Linked DNA regions of Homo sapiens: all the other regions are linked to region 4. Evidence: promoter capture Hi-C in 16 types of primary human blood cells and fetal thymus (Javierre and others, 2016). All regions are on one chromosome and are shown on one strand. The core of a region is centred on a gene start or on the middle of the fragment in contact, and the rest is flanking DNA. Distances in the headings are between cores, read along the strand shown. Region 1 overlaps DTHD1 (death domain containing 1). Region 2 overlaps LOC439933 (a long non-coding RNA gene). Region 3 overlaps DTHD1 (death domain containing 1). Region 4 holds the start of RELL1 (RELT like 1). Region 5 overlaps FAM114A1 (family with sequence similarity 114 member A1). Region 6 holds the start of RFC1 (replication factor C subunit 1). Region 7 holds the start of TLR1 (toll like receptor 1).

What was found. Contacts are between HindIII fragments. The CHiCAGO score rates a contact against its expected background, and 5 or more counts as called.
Region 1: a fragment that was not itself captured here is called in contact with the fragment with the promoter of RELL1 in region 4 in 1 of 17 cell types (M0 macrophages); the score reaches 8.7 in M0 macrophages.
Region 2: a contact is called between a fragment that was not itself captured here and the fragment with the promoter of RELL1 in region 4, in 2 of 17 cell types (M1 macrophages and M0 macrophages). The highest score is 6.7, in M1 macrophages.
Region 3: a contact is called between a fragment that was not itself captured here and the fragment with the promoter of RELL1 in region 4, in 2 of 17 cell types (M2 macrophages and M0 macrophages). The highest score is 6.5, in M2 macrophages.
Region 5: a contact is called between a fragment that was not itself captured here and the fragment with the promoter of RELL1 in region 4, in 1 of 17 cell types (neutrophils). The highest score is 6.1, in neutrophils.
Region 6: the fragment with the promoter of RFC1 here is called in contact with the fragment with the promoter of RELL1 in region 4 in 2 of 17 cell types (naive CD4 T cells and total CD8 T cells); the score reaches 5.5 in naive CD4 T cells.
Region 7: a contact is called between a fragment that was not itself captured here and the fragment with the promoter of RELL1 in region 4, in 1 of 17 cell types (total CD8 T cells). The highest score is 7.8, in total CD8 T cells.

Annotation. Positions count from the first base shown.
Region 1 is chr4:36,309,477-36,312,372 of GRCh38, forward strand. The region is part of intron 7 of DTHD1 (death domain containing 1); the gene reads left to right. Among named protein-coding and RNA genes, the nearest start is that of DTHD1, 29 kb to the left of the region's middle. The HindIII fragment of the contact is 885 bases long and covers 1,175-2,059 here.
Region 2 is chr4:36,264,652-36,267,605 of GRCh38, forward strand. The region is part of intron 3 of LOC439933 (a long non-coding RNA gene); the gene reads left to right. Among named protein-coding and RNA genes, the nearest start is that of DTHD1, 15 kb to the right of the region's middle. The HindIII fragment of the contact is 1,880 bases long and covers 373-2,252 here.
Region 3 is chr4:36,332,966-36,335,665 of GRCh38, forward strand. All of the region lies in intron 8 of DTHD1 (death domain containing 1), which reads left to right. Among named protein-coding and RNA genes, the nearest start is that of DTHD1, 53 kb to the left of the region's middle. The HindIII fragment of the contact is 7,023 bases long and covers 1-2,700 here.
Region 4 is chr4:37,685,009-37,687,708 of GRCh38, forward strand. RELL1 (RELT like 1) reads right to left here and starts at 1,368. Exons shown (of 7, transcript NM_001085400.2): 1 at 1,192-1,368. The coding sequence starts at 1,279. RefSeq lists silencers at 907-1,576, 1,757-2,066. The HindIII fragment of the contact is 3,799 bases long and covers 266-2,700 here.
Region 5 is chr4:38,869,238-38,872,097 of GRCh38, forward strand. All of the region lies in intron 2 of FAM114A1 (family with sequence similarity 114 member A1), which reads left to right. Among named protein-coding and RNA genes, the nearest start is that of MIR574, 2.6 kb to the left of the region's middle. The HindIII fragment of the contact is 2,272 bases long and covers 386-2,657 here.
Region 6 is chr4:39,364,928-39,367,713 of GRCh38, forward strand. RFC1 (replication factor C subunit 1) reads right to left here and starts at 1,435. Exons shown (of 25, transcript NM_002913.5): 1 at 1,312-1,435. The coding sequence starts at 1,314. RefSeq lists an enhancer at 1,357-1,476. The HindIII fragment of the contact is 1,173 bases long and covers 927-2,099 here.
Region 7 is chr4:38,804,067-38,807,022 of GRCh38, forward strand. TLR1 (toll like receptor 1) reads right to left here and starts at 725. Exons shown (of 4, transcript NM_003263.4): 1 at 688-725; 2 at 240-316. RefSeq lists enhancers at 211-380, 247-416, 324-493, 428-597, 1,556-1,725. The HindIII fragment of the contact is 662 bases long and covers 1,301-1,962 here.

The DNA of each region.
Region 1 (2,896 bases), core at 367-2,866, 1.4 Mb before region 4:
TTGTTTTCACTCTAAATCTTACCACAATTTGAAATTATTTAATTAATTTATTTACTTTTTGTTCATATAGTTATGCTATGTCCTTTACCCTTCACCGGAATGAAAACTTCATGAGGGCAATGACCATGTCTTTCTTGTTAATATATCCTCTGAGCCTAACATAGGAACTGGTATATCCAAAACTTTTTTTTTCTTTACAAAATGCTTTATTTTTTATATCAACCCAACTAAACACTGACACCAGTAATGTATTACCAGTTATTGTACACTTTAATCAAATACACTGAAGAAATATCATTGACTGACAAATAAACTATCATCCTCATTTTTTCTGTACAATGTTTGATAGATTTATATCTAGAGAATGATTTCAACAACGAGTTTTTCAGCCCTTGTAGTCTCCAGTTTCTATTGTTGCCATCCTCATGTCCATGTGCACCTAAGGTTTAGCTCCCACTTATAAGAACATGCAGTATTAGGTTTTCTGTTTCTGCATTAATTTGCTTAGGATAATGACTTCTAGTTGCATCCATTTTGTTGCAAAGGACATGATTTTGTTCTTTTTTGTGGCTGCATGGTATTCCATGGTGTATATGTACCACATTTTCTTTATCCAGTCCACCATTGATGGGCACGTAAGTTGATTCCATGACTTTGCTATTGTAAATAGTGCTGCAGTGAACATGCAAGTGCTTTTGATAAGTGTGTAGTGAATGAATGATTATATGACAGTGATGAGGAAAGCAAGCAGGATGAATATGAGAGGTGGCAGGAGAGATTACAGAAGTGAAGGAATAGATGAGACTAAAGAGTTCAAAGGAAAGAGATGAAGAGAAAGAGAAAAGGAAGAAAAAGAACAAGAAGAGAAAACAGCTGTGTGGGAATAGAGAGGAAACGTCTTTGAAAGAGTTGCCATCACAACAATTTCTTTTTCATTAAGCCAACACCTTCCTCTTTCTAACTGCTTGCCCTGTGGTGGAATAGAATCAGACAGGTGTGTGTGTAAAAATGAGGTGAGAGGGAAAATTCCGGACAGGTTTTATGAAGATTTCTGTTCCAGGAGGCTTTCTACATACTTTACTTGAGGGGATGTGCTCCGTTTACTTATAAATTAATATGGATCCGATTTAATTTTATTATGCCTATTTTCTCTCTGATTCAGGAAATAGCTCCAAGCTTCATTGGTTCTTTTTTTGCTTCAAAAAAGGGACAAGGCTTGAAGCTGATGCTGCCCTCCCAGCTTTTTTGATATCTCAGGAATAAGTGAGACCTAAAGTGTCCCAATTTTAAGTGTCTATTCTACTGTCACATACAGGATCTCAGCATCTGAGCCAGCTGACGGGACTTAGTGAGCAAGTGACAAAGATGGCAGAGAAGGGGGCAGGGAAGAGAGAGGAGGGAGAGGAAGGAAGGGTGGAAGAGGCCCCTTCCTACTTGGCTTCCGGAGCAGAAACCACAGCGTCCACCCTGGAGAAATCTCTCTACTGAGACATAGTACTAAGCAGAAGGGTCCCACCCAAACGAATGATGCAAATGATTTTCCTGTAATACTGTGGACAGCAGCTGTGTTTACCAACCACCCTAAATAGGAGTGCATTACTGTTCTACTCACAAGCAGTGGTACTGAATATCCCACTGCCTGTTGTGGAGACCGGGGAGCACGTGCTAAACCAAGAGCGTCCAAGGCAGCCGTCACCTGTGCAATTCCTCCCTATAAGGGTTGGGGAAGAGTTCATCTTCATTCAGGGAAAATGAGCAGGCAGGATACCCAGATCCTGGGTTTGCTTTTCCTAGGGAGACAGGCTCAGATCTGGAGCCTCACTGGGTTTTTCTCTGCCTAAGAGGGAAAAGATCCTCAGTAAACAATTGATACCTCATCCTGGTAAAAGCATAGATCCATCCTTTTATCAGGGCCTAGCGTAGTCTCTGTGAATCTCAAAGAGATAAAGCTAGAGATTCTCTGCCTGGAGGGTTCTCCTCGCCCTCCCCACCCCCACCCTCACCCCCAGTTCTCTCCTGCTGTATCTTCAGATCTCACCTCAACTATCATGTTCTGAGAAGCTTTCTCTATCCTTCCTGATTATGTCAGACCTTATTTTATTTTTTAATAGTTCTATTATACTTTTGCAGATCCTCCTTTTTTCATTTGTGGCCTTTGTCACATGCAATTTTCTATTTTTTCATTTAATTGTTTGACCAATGCCAGTTTCTCCTACCATGGTCACATCCATGGAGGCACTGTCCTGCTGGTGGGCAGCATTCAGTCTCCATCCTATTGGAGGGCAGCATTCAGTCCCCAGCACCTAGGGCAGAGCCTGACAGTTAGAATAAACTCAGTATTCATTGAAAGAAATGAAGACCAAAGTTTAGAAAAAAAGCATTATAGTATTAAGTGCAATTAAAAGTATTTAAAACTTTAATTAATAAATTTAGATTACTGCCTTTGAGAAATGCCAAAATCTCTCTATTCACTTATAGAGAATATGAATGACTTTTCAGTGAAGGTCACAGGACATGGACTGTATTTCTATCTCTAATAGGAAGGAAGATGGATAGGTGCGTCCTTTGGTTTTTATGACGGTTTTTGGCATTCTTCTGGAAACAAGCTACAGCAAGCTTTCATTCTCTAGGTTAGAGTTGTCAGTTTAGCACTTGGATTATTGCATGTTATTCAAGCCCCAACTGCACACAAAATCCAGAAAGTGCCAGGAAGTGTTTTAATATGATTTTATATAATGACACCATGGCATCATCCATAACATCTAGTAATGCCCTGTGAGGTCTGCCTTTTAAAGTTGCCCTGAATGCCCTTTGGCCCAGGGAAGTGATTTTTCTAGATATTCTATAGGATGTATCTCTACATCTATCTCTACACCTATATAATAACCATTCTTTA
Region 2 (2,954 bases), core at 63-2,562, 1.4 Mb before region 4:
CAGCATTGATCTTTAGGGCCAGTAGGCTGGAGGAAGACCTAGTAGCAGAGCAGAGAAAGAAGGCACACTGGAATCTACTGAGCACCACTAATCTATCCATTACCTCCTCAGACTGCAAAACAGCTTTCACAGACTATTGTCTGCTGTGTCACTTCCAATTTTCAAATCTTTTGCAAGCTTTTCTGTTCACTAACTCTATATTGGTAAGGGACTATATAGGTGAGGGGATTCTGGGAAACGTAGTTCTTAGTTTTACCAAGATAATGTAATAGTGTATCATAGCCTGTTCGTGTAAGAAAATGAACTAAGTAATCTGTAAAATGGGACTCATAACAGGGTATTTGAGAAGATGAAATAACATAATGCATGGAAAGCTTTTAACAAGTCACCTACTGAATATTCAAAAAATGATTTTAATTATTCTATATTAAACAAATAGACAAAAATGGGAAGTAATATGATTAACTTGCTCAAAGTGCATTAAAGCAATAATATGCATATTGCTGTGGCTCCCATGAGAATGTGCATCTCGGACCCCTGACTGCTGAGAGTGTAACTAACCAATGCCTCTAGCTGCTAAGCTCTGGAACTCATTGCCTCAGTTGCTTTAGGACCACAGTTTCTCCTTGGCTCTCAGCCAATGTCTGGGTGTGGCAGTGACACCAAGGCAGGTGTGTTGCTGGGAAACCCAGAAGTCCTTTGTGAGTAGAGATTTTTGGCTTGAGACCTCCCAGATGGCTATGTTGATCTTTTCTTAAAACCGCAGGGCTGCAGGACCCATTTAAAATGATTCCACCAAAATTAACTTCCTTCCTTGCTTCCTTCCTTCTTTCCTTTATTCCTTCCTTTCCTGTTTTTCTTTTTTAACCAAGGTCAGACCAAGCCTTTCCCAGCTCCCACCCCTTTTCTCTCTCTGGCAGTTCCCTTAATAAATTTCTTACATGTTTAATCTGGTACAGCTATTTGCTTCTTGGATGACATGGATGAACACAACTGCGAAAGAAAAATGTTAGCACACTAAGAAAATAAGGTCTAGAACCAAAGAGGGAAAAAAAGGAAAGTTAATAAACAAATAATTAATTTAGAAAAATTGACCTCTATAATTTGATTAGACCAACAAAACTGCCTGGGTGCTAATTCTAGACCTTTTTTTTCACCACATAGAGTTTCAAGATAAGAGTTTCTTTATATAGAGTTTACACTCATAGTTCACATACCCTTCCTTCCCTAACAGAAGCCAGGCTATGTCTGGAAAGTGTACTTAGAATGGGAAAATCCAGTTGTCCTGAGACCACACGGATGAACATCCATGGAAATTTACCTGTTCCATGCCTATGTTCTCACTCACTTCCACTAGTCTTTTGTCTAGAGTGAAGTTATCTCTGAAAGAGTATCTGAGAAAATATAGCAAGTTTTCCAAGTTCCAGGAAATCCGAGTAGGTGAAGATACGCTTCACCTCACTGTATATAATGCAACATTGAATGGACTGACACTTATTCTGGCCCAAAGCATAGTTGATCTAATATTTGAATAAGACTATAAAGGATAAGCTCATCTTCCTTTCTTCCATTGCTTTATCTTCTATTTCAGCTTCCATTGAGATGATCAAGAATATGCTAAGTTAGTACTCTATTGCCTAAAAGAAAATTAGTTCCCAGGAAGACAGTTTAATTTTCAAATGCTTTCACTGGATTCAATATAAGAACCAGAAAGAAATATTGATGCTTTTTCAAAGCCTCTTTTGGAGACCTTGTTCATTATATTAATAATCCTTTACATAAAGATCTAGATGCTAAAATCATCTGTAATTCAGTACCTGATACCTCCCGGATGGCTAGGTTGATCACTCCTTAAAACTGCAGGGTCCATCTAAAATGCTCCCATTCAAATTTCCTTCCTTCATTCCTCCCTCCCTCCCTCCTTCCCTCCCTCCCTTCCTTCCTTCCTTCCCTTTCCTTCATTTCTTCCTTCCCTCTTTTTATTCTTCAACCAAGTTCAAACCAAGCCTTTCCCAGCTACCTCCCCTTTTCTCTCCCTGGCAGAAATGTTTTATACCTCCTTTCATCTAAAAATGGGACTAAGACTTTATTCTGCCATTGCCTTGATGGCCAGGAAACTCAGTGTGAAGGTCAATGCTTAAGAATGATGTTTCCACTTTCCTAGTAATTCTTTTTCTCTTTTCCCTGTATAATTTTTTATTTGTAAAACTTTATTAGTAGTACTTATATTGTTTGTGAGTTTATTTTAGGTAAGCTTAAATAGTTGGATTTTTTAGAGGGGATGGAAATAAGTAGGCTATAAAATTTTAAATAAATTATACATGTACGTATATATCAATGTTTACTATGCCCAAACCATGATTAAAAATCACTGATGAAGTTTTAGAAATAAACAGGCCAGGTGGTGTGGCTCAAGAATGTAATCTCAGGATTTTAAGAGGCTGAGGCGGGTAGATCACTTGAGCCTAGGAATTTGAGGCAGCAGTGAAGTATGATTGTGTCACTGCACTCCAGCCAGGGCAACAAAGCAAGACCCTCATCTCTAAAAAAAAGAACAAAAAAAGAAAGAATACTGAAGGGAGTTGTGAAAAATTTAATAGTTTCAATTCAAGCAAGCATGCGAATTTACATCTCATGCTTTTTATTTAAAGGAATGGATCTTTTTGTTTAACCTGTGTCAGGTAGCAGCACTGGAACACGAAGCTGATTGGTTACAGATCTGGTTCTGTAGTATCATGAGAGCCAGCTAGCTCTTCCCTCGGTATCTCCATTCATAAAGTATGAGGGTTGGACTAGGAAGACCTAAGGGATCATTTTTAGCTCTGGAATTGTATGATTTCTTCTGAATTTAAACTTATTCTATTTCAATATTTAAACATCTAATTATCATAGGAGAACACATTCAAGAATGACATTAAGAGGTGACTATGCAAGAGGAAGTTTCCTAACTCTTT
Region 3 (2,700 bases), core at 126-2,625, 1.4 Mb before region 4:
AAAAGCTGAGGTGTTTCTGGGGTAAGAAATGAACCTCAGTTTCAGAAATAACTGTGTATATGAGATATGACTTGACAGAATTCTGTATGCAGGGGAGTTAGGATGGTTTTACCTAAAAATGCATGCACATATTTTATAAATTTAGCATAAAAATTCATTAAATATATATGAATGTATTAAATATTGCATGTTAAGTATATCATATGTAATATAAATATTACACATTATTATATAGCATAATTATATATAGTACATGTTACATATATGTGAAATATACAAATATATATCATATCATACACTGAGAGCTCTAGTCATTGGGGCCAGCAAGTGTTTAGAGTTGAGCACCGAAGTTCCACTCCTTAGATGCATGATTATGTCTGAAGGAAAAAAGTTTTAATTAAAAAAAAGAAGGCCTATTTTATTTAGTTCTGTGGCATATCAGGGCACAGTCAATATTACTTTAATGTCATGTGACATGAGGGGTAGGAAGCCACTTCCTTTATCCTATCATGTTTTACCACACAGCTCACACACCGGGAGAGCTTAGGGTGGCCACTAACAGACAATTGCTTCGCTTGGAAGGGAAGCAGGAGAGACCAAGAGCTCCATATAAAGCAGGTGCAGTGGGATCACTGCTGGTGGGATCCAGCAGAGCAGCAGTAGGGCAGCAGCTGTGCGAACCTGTGGAAACCACAGATGTCATCTGGACCTATATGGCACCATGAGAGGAAAACTAAAGGACAGGTAGAAACCATCATGGCATGCTACGTGGTGATAGATGCATGGGGAGAAGCTGCCGTGCCCACAGAAGGAGTGTGGAGGGCTGCATGGTCCAGCTGAGCACTGGGGGGCACCTAGTGGAACAGTGTGGATGCCAAGAGAGTAAAGCCCATGAAACTGCCAGAAATACTTGAGAAAACTTTGCCAGAAACTGAAATTTCTGCATGAGATGATGGGCCCCAGAGCTAGGTCATCTGCGTGATTCCTGTGAGGTAATTTATGAAATTACTTAATAGAAATCAATATTTTTATTACTACATCCCTATAGCTTTAGGTAAGGTGAAGCAATCTGAAGTTTACTTTTGTCCTGATGTGACGTTAGAAATCTTCATCACTTTTTGGATAAAGATGTTTCTTTCATTCTTCCATGTACTCATTGGGATATATTTATAGGGGTGCTAGTTGATAATTCATGTAGGGTTTGATACTTGATTGGCTTTTTCTATGTGCACTCAGCCTCAGCATCAGAATCACCCAGTTGCTTATTCCAAATGTGGCCTTATCTGAGACCAGTTGAATCCAAGTGTGAGCTTCCCTTTTTTGCCCCTTTCTCAAGGTTCATTGTCAGGAACACTCAGGTTTGAGAACCACTGCCTACTTTTATTTTTTTTGGTTTTTTTTTTTTTTTTTTCTTTCAGAGTCTCACTCTGTCACCCAGGCTGGAGTGCAGTGGCACGATCTCAGCTCACTGCAACCTTGGCCTCCCGGGATCAAGCGATTCTCTTGCCTTCAGACTCCTGAGTAGCTGGGACTACAGGTGTGCACCACCACACCTGGCTAATCTTTGCATTTTTAGTAGAGACAGGGTTTCACCATCTTGGCCAGGCTGATGTCAAACTCGTGACCTCAGGTGATCCACCTGCCTCGGCCTCCCAAAGTGCTGGGATTATAGGCATGAGCCACCATGCTCAGCACACTGCTTAATTTTCTCAGAAAATAGAAAACTAAACGCCTCGTGAGAGAGTGGTAGACAGGGTGTAAGGCATGTGTTTTTCAAAAAGCAGCGGAGATCTGAAATGTGTTCTGCAGGAAATGGTGGAAGTAATCTTCATGGATACATAAAAACCTTGCTGTGCAGATTGTGTGAACAGCTAAAACTGCTGACCTTAAATGTATGATGATAACAATCCTTGTGATTGTCCATGGAGGGCCATTCTGGCTACTAAGTATTTATTAAAGGTATGATGTGCTTAACATGTGGCAAATGTAAGTACTGATATAAAAGAAGATGCAGAAGAGGGCACAATAAATCAGTGAATGTCTAATTGGGGAGGGAAAACAACATATATGAATGGCATTAACAACAATATAATATTAAGTTGTTAGATAAATTGTGTGATAGTATAGTGCATAAATTCCCAAATAAGAAACTAATTTATAAAAGAGGTAGAATTTGACCAGTTCCTTGAAAATATGGCAGGATTTGAAGGGGCGTATCATTTAAATCGAGAGACGATATCATCATGTGAATACAAATTTTTGTTAAGTTTTTTGAGGGGGGGTGCTCTCATTCTGTCATGAAGGCTGGAGTGCAGTGGCATGATTTCAGCTAAATGCAACCTCTGCCTCCCAGGCTCAGGTGATCCTCCTCCCTCAGCCTCCCAAGTAGCTGAGACCACAGGAGTAAGCCACTACACCTGGCTATTTTTTTGTATTTTTTTTGTAGAGATGAGGTCTTGCTGTGTTGCCCAGGCTGATCTCAAACTCCTAAGCTAAAGCCATCCTCCTGCCTCAGCCTCCTAAGGTGCTGGGATTATAAGCATGAGCTATTGCACCCAACCAATAAAATATTTTTTACCACTTTTTGTGTACAACACCTTACCTACTATGATGTCTAACATGTACAGGAATGAGATATACTTTCCTGGCCCTCAAAAACGTTAAGTCTATTGAGTAAAGGGAAGCCTGATAATGGCTGGA
Region 4 (2,700 bases), core at 118-2,617:
CCATTTCCCCAGGTGGATGGCTAACGGAAATACGGGCCTGCTAAAAAGACTCAGGAGACAATATTATCCATCTCCTTCCCTTCCAACCTGCTCTGGTTTCTATGAAAAAGTGAAGGCCAAACTGCTAAGTCAGTGTAAAAGTTGTAAGCGACTGAAATGTTCTCAGGAGGAAGAGTTTATGGATGTTTATGGAGGAGACAGTCACTGTTGAAAGGCTTCCAGTTGCTTATTATTTGGGCCTGAGGAGGAACCACCGCTGAAATCAAGCTTGGAAGAGCTTGCTGACGTCAGATTCCCAGCTGTAGTAACCCCAAATGGCCAAGTAAGTATGTTTTTTTTTTAACTGCAGCTGTTAGGTGGCAATTAAGAGGGGAAGCGGTGGTAAGGAATCCCTAGTGTCTGTAATTATAAAAGCAAGGATGTGACATAGGACTTCCATAAAACTTACACCTCCTCTTAAGATTGATTTCAATTAAAAACTGCTTCATCGTTGGTGACACTTTAGCATCTCTGTTGGTGGCTTCCTGCCCTGACCACACAAGGTTCCTTTCGTGACGACAGGAATCAACAAAAAGAAGAAAAAAATGTAAGTTTACCAACGCGCCTTCCCTTTTTCCGAGCCTGATTTATACAGGATATATGGGAAGAAATGTGGACTCCTTGACCTGTTACAAGAATCCATCAACCACCCAAATAAATGGAAACGTGGAAAGAGATTCAAAGTCCTCCAGGTTTTAGGATATTTTAAGGTATTTAAAAGGGAGAAGGAGGCGCCGACAGCGCACCCGGTGCTCTGTGTCACGATCTTCCGCTCGCGGCGCCTTTGAGGACAAGGGCGGCGGGAAACGGGTCCGCGGGGTTCCGAGGCGAGCGGCCGTGGAGGAAGCGCCCCCGAAGAAGGCCTGGTCCCTACGCCCCGCACTGCCCAGCGCTGGGGAACACAGATCCTCGGAGGAGGCCCCAGGGAGGGAAGGCGGGAGCGGGGCCCGCGGGAGGGGAGGGACGGGAGCCGTTGCCACGCACCGCGCCCTGCCCGGACCGCCGCGGGACAGCCAGTTGTTCAGTGCCGGGATCCCGCGGCTGTGCCAGAAAGCAGGACGCCGCGGGGCTGCCGTCCCGACCCCTCGCTTCCTTCCGCGCTCCCGGGACCGGGCTCAGCACCCGGCGCCCCGGCTACGACCGGACACTCACCCGGAGCCACCAGCGGCGAACTCACGGCGCCTCCCACGAAGACAGCAGCGGCTAGGACGGCGGACCCCGGGAGTGCCCGCGGAGCCATCGCCGCGTCGCTTCGCCCTCCTCCCCCAGGGCGCCGCGTCCCGCGCTCGGGAAGGCAGAGCCGCTCCGGAGCCGGCGGGCTGATCGAGTGGCTGGGCTGGGCCCCAGGGAGCGGCGAACCCCGCCCCGCCATTGCCCCGCCCCACGCCACACCCACCTCGGCTCGGTCCCGCCTCTCCCCGCGCGCCCCGGGCTCCACCTAAGCCGGCACGAGGTCCACTCATGGCTCCGCCCCCGACTCCCCGCCCACCTCAGCCTGATCCCGCCTCTCCCTGCCATTCCCGCTTCCTTTCCAAACCCCGCAGCAGCCTCAGCGGCGTAGCTAGGCCATGGACACGCCCTCTTTCTCCACCCACCTCAGCTTGGCCCCGCCTCTCCCTACCGAGCCCCGGACTCCACCTAAGAAGGCACGTGGCCCATCCATGGCCCCGCCCTTTTCCCCACCCACAGCTCAGCCCGACCCCTCCTCTCCCGCTTCCTTTCCAAACCCAGCAGCAGCCTTGGCGGCGCAGTTAGGCTATAGCCCCGCCCTTGCGCCCTGCCCACCGTGGCCCGGCCGTGCCTCTACTTGCCAGGCCCGCTTCCTTTCCAAGCCGGGCCGGGATTACGCGGGAGCCCGGGGCGGGGGGAGGGTCGCCCGGGTGCAACCTCCCTCGGTCGCTGGGACTAGGCGGGCGTGGGAAGAGAAAGAGGGAGCGCGCCCCGAGAAGCACTGGACAGTCAGAAGCGGCCAGCACTGGAGTGAGCACAGGCTTTTTTCGCTGTTGGCATGTCTATCCACTAGCATTCCCCTCGGTTGCAGATCTAGGGAGTGATGCTGTGCTGGATGTCACGTTCTGTTGTTTGGAAATTAGCAGAAAAGATAACTTAAATTTCTTCCTCTGTTTGTTTGCATTTAAGCTGCTCCTATTGGGGAAAATACCTCTATGCATTTTCAGGAACAACTTGCCTTTTTTTTTTAATCGTGTGCTTGTATTGCACCTTGCGCATACTCCCGCAAAGTAGGTCTTTCAATGCCCAGACGCTTATTATCTCCTCACATCCTCACATCAGCTCTGCGAGGTGACTATTAGAGGCCAGGGAGTAAACCCACGATGTCTGGGCCACCATGATAAATTGTAATTATCTCATTGTCATTGTGTTTGCTCGCTGCTGTGCCCTCAGCGCCTGGATGGAGGACAGACAGCACACGCTAAGAGGTCAGAAGTGTTTTCTGAAGTTGAATCATCTTCACAAGCATTAATAGGACTCAGAGGCTCTCTCTGAATAGTTCCTTTTTACTGCCCTGTAGAGACTGTTGTTACTGGGCCATCAAGCATTTGCTTGAAGGAAATTAGGGCAGGACTTGAGCAAATACTCAACACCAGCAAGAAGAGGGGGTGCATGGAGGCTGTGGGTTTTCACAGGATGGGTCTCATCCTT
Region 5 (2,860 bases), core at 272-2,771, 1.2 Mb after region 4:
CATAGAAGAGGTAGCAGTTATTTCATTGGAAGCAGTGGGGCAGATTAAGGAAAAATTCAGAATGAAAGGTAACATTAGACACTGGGTGTCTAGAGGAATAGGAGTTTGCCAGGCAGCTGGAGGAAGGGCAGCACCGGGGCAGAGGAACCAGCGTAAGCAAAGGCAGGGAGATGTGAAGAGTTATGGGGAATGGAGAAAAGACTGGTGAGGCAGGAGTGGAGGATACTGAGAGTTGCAAGAGGTGGAGAGAGATTGGAGCTGGATTATGATGGGAAGTGTGAAGATATTTACACCTAATGGTTTTTGAACAGGAGAGCAAATAGGTCCAAAAATGCCTGGCAGCCTCACAGAGAATAGGCTGGAGCCTGGGTACGTAGACTTGTCAAGCTTTATACAAACTCATACAAACTGCTACAACCTGATTAAGAGCCTCTCATCCAGAGTTTTTATTCCTGGTCCTTCGCTGACTGGCACTGTTTTTGTTTTTTTTTTTTAACTGGGGGAGATGACCTCACACAGGATATCATGCTAACCAAATTTTTATGCTGCCAAGTCAGGCCATTTTTTTTAAAAAAATCCATCCACTGTCACTATTTCATAAAATGAAAGACATTTTAATACCAAGAAAAAGCACAAAGGCTAAACTTGAAAGATGAAGGCAGTCCTTTACATTTAATAAATTTAGATTTATGAAAAACTTGCAATCTTGTCCTCATTTTTCTCTATCATCACAGACTTGCCCCAGTCCTGCAGGTGGAGTTTGGAAAAAAAAGCATCCAGATCAGTTTGTCCATCCTAGCTTTACAGAGGAGCAGGTGTAAGCACAGTGAGGATCAAGTTGTGTGCCCACAAAGGGATACTGGGACCAGAGGCCACATCCCTTGACGCCTGCAGGACACAACTCTTTCCACCTCAGAATACCATCGCTCCCACCTCTCATCATTCCTCCATGCAGCCTCATGTCCTGGCCTCTCAGACACCTGTCCTGAATCACTACAGTCCATCGCTGATGCTTGGACATTTGCACATGCTCTCATCCCACCAGGCCTGAATCACCACATCAAAGACACTTTCAAGATTCTCCCTTGCACAGGGTCAGTCTAGTTCAGGCACATCTGTCCTTGATTTGCTGTGCTGTTTTGCATCACTTTTTAACTGTTTTGTGTTAGCTCCTCAAACAGATGATTGATTTCTGAAGGATAGTGACCATGTCTTCTGTTTTATACTTATTTTTGGAGCTGTGATGTTGCTGCTTAAATACCTTGCATAGTTCTGGGAGCATTTTAGGTGATGAATGAATTTACTCACGAAAAACTAACTTATTCCCAGCCCACAAAGGCTTCTTTATATGCCACCCTTCCTCTCCTTAGAGTTTCCTGAAGCAGCCTCCTTGTTTCTGTGGGTTGAGTCTCCCTAGCCTCCAGTCCACGAGACATGGCTACAGTGATCAGTGTTCCTAACCATAAATCAGGAAAGGTTTCTAAGTCTGGCTTATGGAACACCCAGACGGAGATGGAAACCGTCCCAGGAAACACAGTGCTTGTCATGACTGTAATCCTGGTGGACTCCAGCAGCCCCTGCTCAGAAACAGTTCTGTATTTCAAACACACAGTTTCTAGTGGTTTCATACAAAAGGGTATAGTCTGAAAAATGATTACATTTCCCCCATCATGATAGCATCCACAGTCGATAAAGTTCTACCAGAACAACCAAACAAAAAATAATTTTTTTTCGTTTTGATTTGGGGAAAATTAGACCTGTAACAAGTAGAGATAAATATGGATTAGAGATACACACAATTAGAAATTGAATTAGAGCTGATCTTGCATGGCTTTCTTTTTTTTCTTTCTTTTTTTTTTTTTTTTTTTTTGCGACAGGGTCTCACACTGTCACCCAGGCTGGAGTGCAGTGGCATGATCCTGGCTCACTGTAGCCTCTGCCTTCCAGGTTCAAGCAATTCTCATGCCTCAGCCTCCAGAGTAGCTGGGATTACAGGCACATGCCACCATGCCCAGCTAATTTTTTTGTATTTTTAGTAGAGACAGGATTTCACTCTGCTGGGCAGGCTGGTCTGGAACTCCTGGCCTCAAGTGATCTGTCTGCCTTGGCCTCCCAAAGTGCTGGGATGTGAGCCACTATGCCTGACCGATGACCATTTTTAAATTTAACAGATGTAAAGATCTAGTATTAATAAAATTTATAAATTATCCATAAATATTTTAAACAATAATCTATAAATATTTTAAATAATAATCCATAAATATTTTTTGACAATAGTCCATAAATATGTTTTAACAATGCCTGTTTAACATCTTACAGCTGAGTTTCTGGGGTATTTCTGAAGGGATGGTTTGTGTTGGTTGAATGCAGAACAGCCACAGAGAGGAGTTTTACTGCAGTACTTTTTCTACATTTGGGATAAACTGACCTAAGGTAATTTGGCCATCAGAGATAGGTAAGGGCTCTAGGTTTCCTCCTCTGCAACTTCCCTACCAAGAGTTAAATTACCATGAATCCAAGTTCACTGATGGAATTCTGCCATAAACCCACACATGTATTAGCAAACAGGCTTAGTTAACCAGTCTGTTCTTATAAGCTCAAGGAAGTCCTAGCTCACTGTCCTTTTAGGCCTGTGTTCTAGAGGCAGGACTCAACTAAGCTTCTAGTCACCTTCAGGCTTTGGAGTCCTGCATTCAGCTAGAGAACCTAGAAGAACGCTACTCCAAAGGGTAAGTCAGCTGCTGGATTCAGTGCAATCTCATGTCTTGGGTATAGAAGCAGAGAAGGCACCTGTACGTTATTTCTTGTCGATCCACATACCTGAGGCATCTTTCATGTCACCAGTGAAAAATTATTTCTC
Region 6 (2,786 bases), core at 185-2,684, 1.7 Mb after region 4:
ACGTTCTTCATCTTCAAGACTCCAAGTCTCAAGCTTCCAAAATACCACAGTGCTTTGGCCTCCAAAATGTAATGATGATCATTATAGGGAAGTAGTATAACATGGTGGTCAGAAACACCAAGATTCTAATTCTAGTTCAACCACCTACTAGTTATATGATACACTGTTTAAATTCCAAAAAGGTGCTTGCACCATCTGTAAAACTGCATCGATGTGGGTTGAAATGAAAAAAAAAAAAAAAAAAAAAAACCATGGAAAACCAACAGTTCACATATTGACCTAAAGAAGATGCTTGGTACAAGGTAGCTACTATCATTACTGTTGCCCTTTTTTGAGAAGAAACACAAAGGCCTGCAACGTTTCCCAGTGTGGCATAAAATTTTCACCGCCCCCCCCCAGAATGTTGTCACTGTGACACGTTGACCAATGATTGAAAAAAATTATATCGGATTGTTAAGTATCTTCTAGCTTAATGAACATTTTAAATGGTCCTTTAAAAATATTTCAAACACAGAGCCATATCCATTGCCATACCATCAGGAATGTCTGCTTTGCTGGCTGCATAATCATTTCACTTTCAATTTGTTTGAACATTTTATCCAGAATTATGCAGTGAGGCTTGGGTTTTTTTCAGATTTTAAACATCAGGTGGTAAGAGGATGACAGCTGTCAAATGTCTTGCATCTGTTTCTATTCGCTGTACTTCTTTTTCCTAGTAAGCCATGTTATCCTTTTGACTCCTATGAACTCATCTAAACAAAATAAAATATCCTCTCCATGCCCTCGGTCTCAACACCGCTCAGGTGATCGTTAATGACGAGCGGAGATGAGACGAGCTGAGCTGTTAATGATAAAAGTTTAAGGCCCTACACAACATATTCCCTAAGAAAGAAAAGTTTGTTACATTCTTCTCCCTCGTGACCCAAAGCTTGAAATCCACGCTTTAGGCAGTACTCAAACTGAGGTTCGGGCAACGCCGAACAAGAAAATAACTTTACCAATGCGTCCCAAAACCACCATCCTTCCTCTCTTCCTTTCTCCCTTCCCCCAAGAGTGGGGGGCGGGGGGAAAGTGCAAGTACACGTAGCAACAAAATCCCTGCGCGCTGGCTGCCGCCCAGAGCCAGAGCCCGCGATGCAATGAAAGTTTTGCGTCCAGTGCCCGGTGTGCGGCCCCTTCTCTGCCTTTGCTAGCCTCCGGAACCACCCACCGCCATCCTCCCCCACCCTGCATACCAGGAGTGCCCGGTCCACACCAGGCCTGCAAAGCCCCCCCAGACCCCGAGCCGCACGGCCTCCCCCAGCGGCTCACCATCGCAGCCCCAGGATGAAGGCGCTGGCTGGCTGGCGGGTGGGCCGGTTGAGGAATCTGTTATCGAGGCTCAGGATCCATTCGCGCCAACAACTTCTCCCGCGAAGTGCAAGAAGGCGAAGACAGTGGCGCGCGGTGATGACGTCAGGAGGCGCGAGCTTTGCTTCCGTCCCGCCCAGAGGCGGGAGGTGCGACGCCTGCCCAGGTGCTGCCCCGAGGGCAGGCGGGCCGCTGACATCGAGAGGAACCACGGTGCTTTGGTGTGAGCTCGGTTTTTGGCGGGGGCGCTAAAGTAGGGGGATCCGATATTGGTTTCCTTGGCAGGCGGGGTACCCAAGTACCTCCCGGTTACACGTCTGGACAATGCACTTCCCTATAGTAACTTTGAAAAGTTTTTACTACCAACTTTAGTAAGATAAATGTTTTAGCTGTGCGTTTTACATATTATGTATAAATATCTATTCTGTAATAAGGTTTCATCAAGAGGCCGGACGCGGTGGCTCACCCCTCTAATCCCAGCACTTTGGGAGGCCGAGGCGGGTGGGTCACCTGAGGTCAGGAGTTCGAGACCACCTGACCAATGTGGTGAAACCCCGTCTCTACTAAAAATACAAAAATTAGCCAGGGGGTGGTGACGTGTGCCTGTAGTCCCAGCTACTCGGGAGACTGAGACAGGAGAATTGCTTGAACCCAGGAGGCAGTGGTGCAGTGAGCCGAGATCGAGCTACTGCCCTTTAGCCTGGGCGACAGAGCGAAACTCCGCCTCAAAAAAAAGAAAAGATACCGAAAGCTTTGGGGTAAACCAGTTGTATATGAATAGATTAGCAATTGAATCACGGAATACAATGAAACATTTGCGTACGATTTCAAGAGAAAGATTAGACCATAAAGAGTTCAATGGAGAAAGCAGTATCTCCAGCTTTGGCTCTAGCTACACTTTTGAAATTCTCACCCATCCACCCCCTGTTGGGTCTTGCGCTTTATGACACCAACATTTCTATGGCGAAAGATAGAACAGCCTGGAATACAACAGAGGCTGAGCATTGACAGCTTGTATTTATTAAACGCCTATTGTTGTACGTGCAGCTCTGGACTAGCCTAGCTCATTTTATCCCCATGATGACACTGACTACTCTTATCCCGAATTTACAGACAGACTGTTACTTATTAACAGGGCCTCACTGCACTGTTCCCTCTGAAGCCAGGATGCTAGGTCTCCAGCCCCACCACCTGCTATTTATGTGACCAAGGGCAAGTTACTGTGCCTCGGTTTTGTCTTAGCAGACATATCACACAAATTTTTGCCCATAATTTTAGAGGACCTACACCAATTTATAATGTTCATTGTGTTATAAATCAATAAATGAGTAAATAAGACATAAAAAGTTGTACGTGTCTTTTATATTACATTCCTCTTAACTTTTGCTTTTTTTTTTTTTTGGCATTTGAAGCCTTCCTTGAGTTTAAATGAGACT
Region 7 (2,956 bases), core at 382-2,881, 1.1 Mb after region 4:
AGAATCTGAGACAGTTCAAGAACTGTTCTGCTTTGCTTTCTATGCGGTTTTGTGAACTCTTGCTTTGTTATAAAACAAATTCACTTTCAAGTCTTTTGACCAAATTGGATGTAGCCTGGGAAACATTTTCAAAACCTGCAATTCTACCTCACGTCTAGCTCCCCAGAACAGTGTTAGTGGCCTGAGAAACAGAAGGACTAGCTAGTGGGAAGGCCCCAGAGAGAAAAACTGAAACAAACCTGGCCACAAAAACAGAAGAGCTGAACAGCAGCATTGCCTCCGGGAGTAACTGACTTATATCTCATTTTCTTTAACACTGAGAAGAGAATACAAATGGCGGGATTAGGTGAAGAGAAATGCTGTCAAAATCAACAACTAGCAGCTGCTCTGGAAGAAAACCAGAAGACGTGTGTGACCCAAATATTCATTTCCCAACTCAAAAATATTTCCTATAAGCAAATCACACACGAGGTGTTATTCCCAGAGGAGTGTGGGGACTTTCTCTGATTTAGGACTCAGAACTGATACACAAATGCCAGTACAAACTACACAGTAACTATATACATATCAGAAATATAACCCACTTAGAAAAACACCCAGGACTTACACAGATTTTTGAGACTTCTGTACTTAATAACTAGCTATACAATTATTTTCTTTTACAAAAGAAAAGAATGTGTTGCTTACCAAGACAACCTGCTTGTCTGTTCCATTTGGCAGTCTGTAAGAAATTCAAGCACTTCCTTGAATTTATTTCACTGTTAACCACATTTGGTGTTGAAAACAAAACAAAACAAAAAGGCTGTTTTATGCCACCTACCGAATTCCACTGGAATTACATTACATAGTTAAGAATAAACTTATTTTCTCTTATTCATATGTAGCATAGTCTGTGGGTTACCTGATAGGCCTGTATTAAAATAGAATCACGTTTCTATGGTTCCAAATTTCACTACAGTCAGTTTACTATTGTCTACACTGATGAAGTAAATGAGGTAATGTTAATAATCCACAGATCATAATTGGCTGAATTCAAAATGCTTACCGTGGTGGCTATGCTTGGCAGAAGTGTGCGTCTGGGTGTGTTTCGGCTGCTTTGTTTTTCCTCTTGCCTTTTCATCCATCCACTATTAAAAGTGGAAAGAGGGAGGGGTCGAGATTAAAGTTTTGCTGAAGCACACTCGTAAAGAGGGAAGATCATTCATGTGCTGGTTACAGGATGGATGTTAATCACGTCTTTTTTGACAAGTTGATTTTCAGAGAAAATTTGGTGCTGAATTTTTTTCCACTGATCTTTTCAAGCTTTCTTCAAAACATATTTTTGTAAACCCTAAGTGAAAAATATGCTAAGAAGAAAAGAGATTCTTAGCGTGTTTTTCACATAGGGTTTATAAAAATCCTGGGGTTTGTTGACAGCATGTTCAAGGAAGACATTCTGATAGCTCTACTCTTGCCTTTTCCAGTAATGACAACAACAAAATAACAACACAATAAATGGGCAAATAAAGCTATGGGATTCCAGCTGACTGCCTCTGAAGTTGATCTCAGCCTGCATGGTGTCCAGTCAAAACCGGATGTGGGGATGACAAAACTGCCTCCCTTCCTTCCCTCCACGGTTCTCTCCCGTAATCAGCTTTTCTACCACACAGCGAGCAAGGCCAACTTCCCTAAACTAAGAATGCTGAGATTCTTTTCGACTTATAATGTTCTGACTGTCTCTCTCTGTTTCCCCTTACCTCAGAATTTGTTTAATAGAGGAAATATGTTATGTCTACAGATATTTTCTGAAACTGAAAGAATGAAACCACCCACCTGCCATTTCCTCCCTGAGACCCATAACTGGACAGGAGGGAGGTGTCTTTGACTAAGAATTTAGTTCCTGGCTCCCAAAGGCATTGACTTTGTGAATCCAGGCTGAGGGAGCAATGCCCAGGGGAGGGAAGTGGGCAGGGCAGTAAGGGAAGCTTCTCAGCACTCTGAATTCCTGTTTTTCCCCACAGACTCATCCCCACTACTCCCAGTTGTGTACATGATTACAAGTGTGTGTGTCTCTGCCCACCCCTAGCCCATACCTGGGCATTTCTTTTTGGATTCAGGGCAGTAAAAATATGCTGTCAATTAGATGTAATCTGTAGTTAGTTGTGTTTTTTTTTAACAAAACCTTATTGATATATAATTCACAAACCATAAAAAATTTCACCTTCCATAAAAAATTTCACAAACGATAAAAAATACACCCGTTTAAAGTGTATAATTCAGGCCGGGCATGGTAGCTCATGCCTACAATCCCAACACTTTGGGAGGCTGAGGCAGGCAGATCACCTGAGGTCAGGAGTTTGAGACCAGCCTAGTAGAGAAGGCGAAACCCCGTCTCTACTAAAAATAAAAAAAATTAGCCGGACGTGGTGGCACATGCCTGTGATCTCAGCTACTTAGGAGGCTGAGGCAGGAGAATCGCCTGAACCCAAGAGGCGGAGGTTGCAGTGAGCCAAGATCACACCACTGCACTCTAGCCTGGGTGACAGAGCAAGACTCTATCTCAAAAAATAAATAAATAAATAAATAAATAAATAAATAAATAAATAAATAAAATAAAGTGTCTAATTCGGAGGCACCTACCTGCCTCTTTTTCCCCCTGCTGTCCAGTGGGTCACCACAGAACAAACACACACTTGTAATCATGTACACCCATCAATCAACAAACACACACTTCCCCTCTACCTCTACACCTCTACCTCTACCTACCTCTACCCCTACCCCTACCCCTACCCCTACCCCTACCCCTACCTCTACCTCTACCTCCACGGTCTCCCTCTGATGCCGAGCCGAAGCTGGACTGTACTGCTGCCATCTCGGCTCACTGCAACCTCCCTGCCTGATTCTCTGCCTCAGCCTGCGGAGTGCCTGCCATTGCAGGCGCACGCCGCCACGCCTGACTGGTTTTTGTATTTTTTTG